Regions from separate parts of the Homo sapiens genome. Here region 2 is linked to region 1. Evidence: promoter capture Hi-C in human tissues and cell types (Jung and others, 2019). All regions are on one chromosome and are shown on one strand. The core of a region is centred on a gene start or on the middle of the fragment in contact, and the rest is flanking DNA. Distances in the headings are between cores, read along the strand shown. Region 1 holds the start of NCOR2 (nuclear receptor corepressor 2). Region 2 overlaps NCOR2 (nuclear receptor corepressor 2).

Region 1 (4,811 bases), core at 1,377-3,876:
CAGAGCTCTGGGAAATCTTTAGGAGGTGGCATGAGTATTATTAATTGGGGAAAAAGAACAGATTATGCCAAATAAATCCTTCCCACATAACCAAACCCTCTCCGAGAGGGGGAGGGGGAGAGCGCAGCCCCAGGAGGGGTCTCCATCCCTCACCAGGGCCTGACAGCCACATTACCATTTACATGGATTTATCAATAGTATTGATCCCCAGCAGCGTAAATAGCTCAGTGGGAAGAGGCCAGGGCTGGGGCCTGCTGCGCTCCCGCCCCCATGTCTGGGCACCGGCACCACAGACTCCCCCGGCACCCGCTGGCGGTGGCAGCAGTGAATTTCCAAGCAGGGACACGGCAGGCGGCTCAGGGAAGCCAGACAGAGCCCGGGATGCCCTGGCAGCCGCGCTGCCGACTCGCCAGTCACCGCTGGCTCCACCCCCCCTTCATTGCTCTGCTGGGCCTGACTCAGTCTTTGCATCTGTTCAATGGGCGGGGGCACCTGCCCTTCTCCATCCTCTCCGGACAAGCAGAGGGGAGTGGGAAAAGGCCCCCTCCCTCCCCCAGATCCCCCCACTGTCCACCCCCAGCCAAAGGTAAGGTGGCCCCTTTTCACAGGGCTTCCAGACCACGTTGGATTAAAGGCCCAATCTTAGAACCCAGGAATAATAATACCGACACAGTAGTCATAGTAACACATACAAGTACCAAGGGATTCTTATGGCCGGACGGTCAGCTCTCACAACCACTCTGTGAACTCAGTACCATTTTGACCCTCATTTTGCAGATGGGAAACCTGACAGGCACAGAGAAGTTAAGCATCTGTCCAGGGTCACACTGCCAGGAAAGTGGCAAAGGTCAGAGTCAAACCCCAGGAGCTGAGGTGCAGAGTGGGCCATCCCACCTCACTGCTGCTTGCCATTTCTCGGCCCCTCCTCAGCACCCCCAAAGAGGCCACCCACGAGGTACACAGCCTGCCCCGGGTCGCCCTCCCGGCGCAGTCTGGCCCGGAGAGCCCCTTATATCAAAGCTGCCGCAAGGACCCAGATCTGGCTGAAAAGGGGCAAAGTCAAGGCCACCGGTAACACATCCCAACGCGCCCAGAACTCCCCCACCCCGCCCACAGGGTCCTCCCCTTATCCCCTCCTCCCCTCTTCCCTCCCTCACACATCCTTCCTCCAAATCTGCAAAAAGGGAAAAATAATAATAATCACAATAAAACCAGTTCTCACCAACGGGGGAGAGGAGGAGGGGGAGGAAGGGAGGAGGCTGAGCCGACAGAACAGATCCGCCCCCGCTGCCTGCACCAGACCCTCGGAGAGCCGGAGCGCGCGACAGGCGGCGGGAGGACACTCGCTTCCAAAAAAATAAACCTACAATGTAAAAATAACGCCGGGCGCCCCACGCTAATTGGGCCCGGGCGACAGCAGCTCCCAGGTACAGCCTGTCTCTCCCTCCCGCCCGCCGTGCCCTCCCGCCCTCGGCTTGCTCCTCCTGCAAGTGTCTGGGGCGGGGAGGGCGTACCCCACGGGTGCCCTCACTCCCCGCAGGCCTCTGAGGAAGCTGCCCTCTAGACAAGGGTCTGGGTCTTCCCAGTCGTGCCCAAGTGGGATCAGCTCTGAATTCCAACTTCGCAAAGTAGTGGCATCCCAAGTATCCGCACAGCCCGGGGGAGGGACTAGGAGGCGGCCCAATGAGGCGTCACCAGCCACGGGAGGCAGGCCCAGACACCAGGAACACCGGCCCGCGGGGGAGGGGGACCAGGGGCGACTCTCCCGAGGGACCCCGCCCAGCGCCCCGTGGCCCCACGCCTAGGAGGGACAAGGCTGGCTCTCCCCCTCGGCTGGTGAGAGACCCTCATGCGCCCCTCCACAACAGCCAGGCCAGGGAGCTAGGGGTACCATCTCCAAGGGCTTTCAAACCCGCGCTGCCCGATGGAAAATAAGGCGCAGTGTCGCCCCGCCAGGTCCGGGGCTACACCGGGTACAAGGGACGCCTGGCGGCCAAGTCCCCAGAGCCGGCGCACACTGTGGGGGGCCGCTCTGTGCATTTCCAGCGCGCCCCCCGCCCACCCCAACGCCACTTCCCTCCTTCCCGCCCCCTCGCTAGGGAGCTGGAGTTCCCCTAAGTTCCCCGGCGCCCCCGAGCACGCGGGCCGCAGTGTCGGCGGGGCGCCTTGCTCCCCAGCAGGCCACCCCCCGAGAGCGCCAACTCGGGAGTGCAGGGGCCCCGCCAACTCCGCCGCGTGCGCCGCCCGATCCTCCCCGGATCCCCCGGAAGCGCGCTCCGCGCCTCCCCCCGCCCTTCGCGGGGACCCTCGGCCCCAACTCACCTCGCGGAGGTGGCAGCGGTGGCGCCCGGGCTTGGGGCGCGCTCGGGCCGCCGGGGCGCTCAGGCAAGTGGCGGTGCCGATCGGGCTGGGGGCGCGCAGCAGGCCCGGCCTCGGGTCGGGACGCGATCCTCCCGCCGCCGCCTCCTAGGGCGCCGGCCCTGGGTCCCCGGCCCGCAAGTTGGCGCGCATCGCGGAGCGCAGGGCGCGGGCGCAGGGCTCGGGCGGGGCGCCGGCGGACGCGGGGCTCCGGTGCGGCCCGGCCTGCCCGCGGCTCCGCGCTCCCCGGCGGCCGCGGCGGCGGTGGCGGCGGCGGCGGCGGCGGCGGCGGCGGGAGGGGGAGGAGGGGGCGGGGCGCGAGCCCGGGAGGCGGTGGCTCGGCCTCCCTGCTCCCGGCTCCCCGCCCGCAGCGACGCGCCCCGGCCCGGCCCCCTCTGGCTCCTTAAAGGGCCCGCGCCTTCTCTCCAGGCCCTGCGCGTCCCCACTCGCGCGCGCACGCCGCCACACACACAGACACGCACGCACACACTTGGGCGCGACGCCGAGTTTCTTTTTGGCAGCTCCCCGAGGAGGAAGGAGGGGGGAAGCGCCTCCCAGCCTTCCCCTCCCTCTTCTCCTGCGGGCCCGGGGGCCCTCCTCCTCCTCTCCAGCCCCAGTACCTCACTGGAATCGCGTTTCAGCTATTAAATTATAACTCTGGAGTGGCCGCTGGATGGGGAGGGGGCGCGCAGGGAGGGCCCTACACAGGGCCTTTTAGGAGCACGCCCAGTGGGGCACTTGGGGACGGGAGCAGACAGTAGCGCAGAGCCCTCTCCAGGCAGGAACACGCTGGGCCTCCCCAGACCCGAGACCCAGCCCGGGCGAACACACTGCAGACTCACCACCCACCACGGACCGGAGATGTCAGATCTCACACAGACAAATACTGGGACACCCACGCGAGTTCACAGCACCCCGGAGGACACAGACGCTAGAATGCCAGTTTCCTGAGGGCAGAGATTTCTATTTTGTTCACTGCCCTATCGCAGTAGGGACTCACGAATGTGTTGAGTGAAGTCCCACTTGGGGACATTCAGGGACACAAATGCGGAGACAATGCAACGAGCCTGTGTCCCCCCCGCCCCCCCCACACACACACACAGACACACACATCCCAAAGCGTGACCCTGGGAGCCACACACGCCCGGCCTGCACAAGCACGCAGTCACAGACGGCACACATGTGCTCGCTCCCCCACGCACAGGCAGACACTCTCCGCTCCAGCAGGAACCTGGCCCCCCTGGCCGCCCTGACAACCCAGTGTCCTCATTTACCCCCTCCTCCCACCCCCTCCAGGTTTGCCCTCTCCAACCAGGGCAGATCTCTTTGAACAGCAGAGGGCACTGGGAGCCCTGGGCCTGGAGCCTCCCTCCCTCCCTCCTCTTCTGCTTTCTCCTAAGATGTTGGAGAGTTTGAATTTTTTTTTTTTTTTTCAGTTCAACTTTCCTTTTTTGGAGTGACGTCTCAGCAGATTCAGTTCTGCCATCTGGCAACATCTGAGAACCCCCAGGGAGAGCGGGGAATGGCTGCGGTGGGGAGGCAGCCGCGTGGTTTCCAGAGGCCGGCGGGCCTCCCGCCTCCGCCAGGATGCTGGGTTTGCCGGGCTCCCCTGCAGCCAGGTCCTTCTCTGCCCCCTCGGGCTTTTAATTATGAGCTTTTGGGGGGCTGGCGGGAGCCTCTGGGGCTGACAATGTCTGGCAAAAGGGAAGTGGGTGTGGAGGGGAGCAGTTTGCAGACTGAAACAGGAGGGGTCATAGGTCAGTGCCCCCCCCCCACCTCCTTGTTTTGGCCCGACCAGCTCCAGTTCTGCCCAGCCAGTCGGTCCGAATCCACAGGCAAAAAGCTGGAGCCGCAGAAGGAAGGCCTGATCCCCCACCTCCCCCACCAAGGGTCTTGGAGAGGGAAGCGGGGGCGGGGGAGCTCCTCTGCCAGCCCCAGGCCGCCTGGCAGCCCTCCTCTGTCACCTGAAAACCCTCTGGGAATTTGCATTTCCATGAGATTCAGCTCTATTTGAAGCTGGAGGAGGGACATTTGGGGTGTCTTCAGGGGTCTCCCAGCTTCTGCCCTCGAGGGCTCCCTGCAGGCTTAGGAGCGGGGAAAGCAGGGGGTCTGTCAGCTTTGTAATGTCCCAAGCGTCACCTAGAAATCCCTCACTGGAAGCCTTATCAACTCAAGCGCCAATGGCCTCTGGCCCGACCATGTCACAGATGGCAAGACTGAGGCCAGGAGAAGGGCAGCGTTTATCCCGAAAGGGATTGGCCCTTTCCCGTCTGCTCCTGTTTCCTGGCTGAATTGGGTTATTAATCTCACCCTCACAGACGGCGGGGAGTAACACCAGCACTGAGTGAGCACTTACCCTGGGGGAAGCAAGGGGCCTGGTCCCAAGTAGGGAAACAGGCCTGGAGAGATGAAGAACCCGACTTGCCAGCCTCCAGCAGCAGCCCGTGATTCCA
Region 2 (4,845 bases), core at 2,090-4,589, 66 kb before region 1:
TCCACTGCCTGGGATTTACACAGTGCCCACCCCGGAGCATGGGGCTGGAACCTCGGCCCCTCACCTACCAAGGGGTTCCCCCACCAGCCCCCCACCCAGCGCCTCACATGCCGGTGGGGCCTGAACAGGGAACAACTCCAGTAACCTCGTGCCACCCTCACTCACCACGAGCTTAGGAAACCCAGTTTCCAACCCCTCCCGACCTGAGCCACGTTTCCTGCCAACTCGAAAAAAAACAAATGTTAGGGAAACGGTTTGGCGGTTCCTCAAAAATTTAAACATAGAATAACCATATGACCCACCAATTCCATTCCCAGGCATCCACCCAAAAGAACTGGAAACAGGGACTCAAACAAAACACGGTATGCATGTTCATGGCAACAGAATTTACAGCAGCCAAAAGGCAGACCCAGCAAAAATTCCAGTCCATCCCTACGATGGAGTATTACTCAGCCATAAAGAGGAACGAAGGACGGCTGTGTCCTACACCACACATAACCAGAAAATGTCATGCTGAACCAAAGAGGCCAGACACAAAAGGCCACGAACTGCCTGACTCCACGGATATGAAATGTCCAGAACAGGCACATCCACGAGGCAGAAAGGAGACTGGTGGCTACCAGGAGGGCAGGGTGAGGCAGGAATGAGGCCTGCTAATGGTTACAGGGTTTTACAGGGCAGTGATGCAAAGGTTTTGAAACTTGATAGAGGAGGCGGGTGTGCAGCACTGCGAATAGGGAAAAAAATAAGCTTTGACTTTTCATCAGCAGGTTTGGAAGTGAATGCCAAAAAAAATGATGACATCATTTCCTCAAAGATGGGGGCAGGAGAGGACGAGGGAGCCCCTCCAGGGTCTCCAGGATCTGGTCCTGGCCAAAGGAGGTTCTGAGGATGGATCCGGGCTGGAGGGGGAATTCAGACACAAACGCCCCATGTCGCCGCTGCGTCTGGCTGCGGTGGGGTCAGAAAGGGTGGGCGGCATTCATTTATTTACATACACACTGTGGTCCCTGCTGAGCCCCGGGCTAGTGCTGGGGACTTCTTGTGAACCCAGCGGGGTCCAGGCCCTGGAGGGTCTCAGGCCAGGGGCTCTGCCCAGCCCTGGGGAGAGCCAGGAGATACGAGGAAGAAGAACTTCCAGAGGGTGAAGGCGAGGGGATGGAGAGTGCTCCAGCTGGAGGCGCCGCTGAGCAAGAGCAGGGAGGTGAGCGCCAGCTGGTGGGGGGTGAGCGCAGGCTTGGGGGTGAGCCCCCGCCAGGCGGTGAGCACAGGCCCAGGGGTGAGCGAGGGCCTGGGGGTGAGCACAGGTGCCGTTTATGTTTGAGAAATTCATTGAGTGAATATGGGGGGAAGTGGGGACAGAGTCATTCAGGGCCCCATGGGCCCGGGTAAGGATGGATTTTGTTCTCAGGGCAGTGGGGAGCCACAGAAGGTGGTTGCGGGGGAGAGTAAAGGGTCAGTGTTTTACGAGCAGGCACTGGGGACAGCAAGAGTGGATCAGGGAGACCTGGGGAGGCTCCTGCAAATGTCCAAGAGAGGGGACACTGGGGGATCAGGGCAACAGCGACAGAGAAGGGGAAATGGGCAGGTGGATGAAAGTCAGGAGGGAGGCTGACTCTGCAGGCCGAGGAAACAGCTCGCTGCAGGAGTCCCGCTGCACAGGCCCGCTGCGAGGACCCTGTGCCTGTGGCATACCGAGAGGTGCCTGGGGAACAGCAGGTGCTCAGCCATGCAGAGTCAGGAGGGTCAGGCCTCCGAGGAGAACAAGACGGTGCCTGGGTGAGGTCAAGGGACTTGTAGATCTCAGGTGGCCGGGATACCCAACGGGGACACCAAGGGCCCAAGCAGGCCTCTGCACATCCAAGCCACCAACCACAGCCCCAGGGCCCCTGCTGGCCCCTGAACCAGCTGGAGGAGGGCTGCAGATCCCACGCAGGCAGGTGGAGGGGCTCCCCATGCACGGCTGCAGGGGTCTGTCCCTGGGCCATGCCTGCCAGGAGGTAGCAAACACACAAGTGCCCCCCGCCCCCACTGCACTCTGCCAGGCAGCAGCAGAAGCCAAGTGGGCCACATTCCCTGTTCCCGGCCACTGCGGGCTTTGGTAAGGTTTCCAAATCCACAGCGGAAAGCTCAGGCCGTGAGCTCTGACTGGCTGTCCGCCTTGCCTCCTGCTGGACCCAGAGCCCCTTCTGGTGCCTGGCACACAGTAGGTGCACACTGAATGACTCTGCCCAGCGGAGGTGCATGCCAGCAACGCAGTGATGCCAGAAACCACCACACCTGTGTCCTCTTCCCACCTGGCCGGGCAGAGGCGCCTTTCCGGGAGGCCCTGGAAGCTTCCATGGGGCCTCCCACCCCTGCATTCCTCTCCAGCTCCGGCAGGATGAGGCCACACCGAGACACATTCCATAGATTTTCTGTGTCTTGAGCGGCCTGGTTCAGACCTGGGGAGGGTGGAATTACAGCCTCAGGGTGAGGGGCAGGCGGGGGCTGGTGGAGGTGTGGGAGCTACAGGATGTGCCCGGAGCGCTCAGCCGCGGGCTGTGGGGAGGATGAAAGGCACGCGGGGCTCTGCGCCGCACGTGCCTGAAATGTTCTGGGAACTAATGGGTGCTGACATTGGAAGAACCTGTGGCAGGTGGGGGAGCCTCGGGATTAAAAACCAACCTGCCAGGCAGAGAGCGCCCACGGCACGAGCGCGCGCGCACGCGCGCACACACACACACACACACACACACACACACACACACACACACACTCGACAGAACCCTCTGATACTCTGAGAAGCCCAAGGCACAAAGCCCCCCTGGGGTGGGCGGAACCACGGCGGGAACACAGGCCGTGCCTCCACTGTCCCAGCCTGGCCCTGCGAAGACAGGCAGGCCCCAGGAGCCCTGCAGCTCAGCCACATACGGCCTCCCTCACCGCTCAGTAGGTATTTGTTCCACTCACTGTGGAATAAGCACCTATTGTGTGACAGCCACCGAGAGGCACGGCACCTGGCACACACGAGGCGTATTAGCGCCCTCGGCTGCCCCACCACAGACTGCATGGCTTCAAGCAACAGAAATGGATTGTCTCACTGTTCTGGAGGCCTCGAGTCCATATCCAGCTGTCATCAGGGCCCCACGGCCTCTGGGGGCTCTGGGGGAGGCCCTTCCTACTTCCTCACTCCTCCAGCTCTGGTGGCCCCGGCAACCCCCGGTGTTCCCTGGCTTGTAGATGCATCGTGCCATCCTCTGCCTCTATCTCCACGCAGCCTTTCCACTGCATCTCCTGTCTCTGTGTCTCCCCTTCTTCTAAGGGCACCCGTCATATTGGATTTGGGGCCCTCCCCTATCCGGTTGTGACCTCATCTTAACTAATGTGATCTGCAAAAACCCTTTCCAAACAAGGCCGCACTCCCAGGTTCCACGCAGACGTACCTTAAGGGAGAACACTACCTACTTCAGGAGGTGCTCCAGAAATACTTGTTTTGTTCACTGCTGTATCCCCAGAGCCCAGCACACAGTAGGCATCTAATAAATATTTACTAAACAAAACCACTGCAGCCAGTCTGGCCCGAGGAGAAGCCGGCCCGGGGGGAACTCTGGGACAGCAGTTCTGGGATGTGCGCACAAGACGCTGCGGAGCGCCAGCTCCACGGGTCGAGCTGTTGACACCTTGGGTGTTTACTTTCTGGCGTGCAGTAAAAACTGGGGAACTGGCCAAGTATCTGATGGCCACCTTCAGCAGGACTCCTGGCGCAGAACGGATGCTCAGGAATCCAGCTCTGGAGTGAGTCCTGAGATGCGGAAAGCCGGTGGGACGTGGCAAGGGTGCACCTCGCCCAGCCCAGTCCAGAGGGGCCCCCACAGCCAATGAGGAAGGGGGTGAAGAGAGAGCTCCTGCTGCCCGGCCTGGTGGCTCACTCTGTCTACCACGATTTGTTAAGCACCTACTGTGTGAAAGGTGCTGGGGATACAGCAGTGAATTACTGATCCCAAATCCCCCACCTCGTGAAGCTGCCATTCCAGCAGGTGAGACGGGAGTAAGAGGATGGCAGAAGGTGTTAGCACGATGGAGAAAAACAGAACCAGGAGGCGGCAGGCAGGGAATGGGGGTACATTTTGAAAGTGGGCAGTCAGGGGTGCGTCACCAGAGGTGCCTTTTATGCAAAGGCGCCGGGGAGAGGAGGGAGTCTACACAGCAGGCACAGCAGGTGCAAAGGCCCAGAGGCAGGACCGAGCCTGGTGTGTGAGGACAGCAGGGAGGCCTGGATGGGGAGAGTGGGGTGAGCGAAGGCATGTGAGGTCACTCTTTCTGGCTATAGCCAGAAAGCTGGGGTGTTCACTGCAAGGGAGCTAGGAAGGACACAGCTGGTGCACTTTAAACAAGGCTGACGTGCGGTCTCCTGTGGCAAGTCTGCCTCTGGCGTCTCTGTGTTCAAAGGACACTGTAGCTGCCCCTGTGTCGAGGAGCACTGGGCACAGGTGTCTGAGTGTGGGGCACAGGTAAAAGGGCCCCTGTAACCCTGAATGATGACAGCCACGATTGTCAGGGCCCTAGAGAAACGGGCCTCCACCCATGCACAGCGGCAGGCCTGCAGGAATGAGGCCAGACTCCTTGGCCCTCACTTGGCAGAAAGGTCATTCCACTCCCTAAGGAAGAGCCAGGTACCCAACCCCAGCCTGTCGTTGGCTCTGCCGGAGGGGCTGAGGGTCAAATACTAAGAGCTCAATCCCGGGTGCCACCCACAAGGGTGCGGTCTGCCCTCCAGCTGAGACCAGGCAAGCCAAACCCATCCCAAACTCCGGTTGCTGACCCATTCTCATCAATTAGAGAATTATTTCAGCATCTGTTATG

Evidence for each region. Contacts are between HindIII fragments. The study calls those that stand out against the background at their distance.
Region 2: a contact is called between a fragment that was not itself captured here and the fragment with the promoter of NCOR2 in region 1, in 3 of the 25 tissues and cell types used here (IMR-90 fibroblasts, aorta and dorsolateral prefrontal cortex).

The regions. Positions count from the first base shown.
Region 1 is chr12:124,564,986-124,569,796 of GRCh38, forward strand. NCOR2 (nuclear receptor corepressor 2) reads right to left here and starts at 2,627. Exons shown (of 49, transcript NM_006312.6): 1 at 2,323-2,627. RefSeq lists silencers at 1,373-1,472, 1,673-1,892, 2,033-2,142, 2,163-2,522, 2,633-2,882 and enhancers at 3,003-3,052, 3,219-4,079, 4,080-4,811. The HindIII fragment of the contact is 12,918 bases long and covers 1-4,811 here.
Region 2 is chr12:124,498,350-124,503,194 of GRCh38, forward strand. The region is part of intron 2 of NCOR2 (nuclear receptor corepressor 2); the gene reads right to left. Among named protein-coding and RNA genes, the nearest start is that of NCOR2, 67 kb to the right of the region's middle. The HindIII fragment of the contact is 6,725 bases long and covers 1-4,845 here.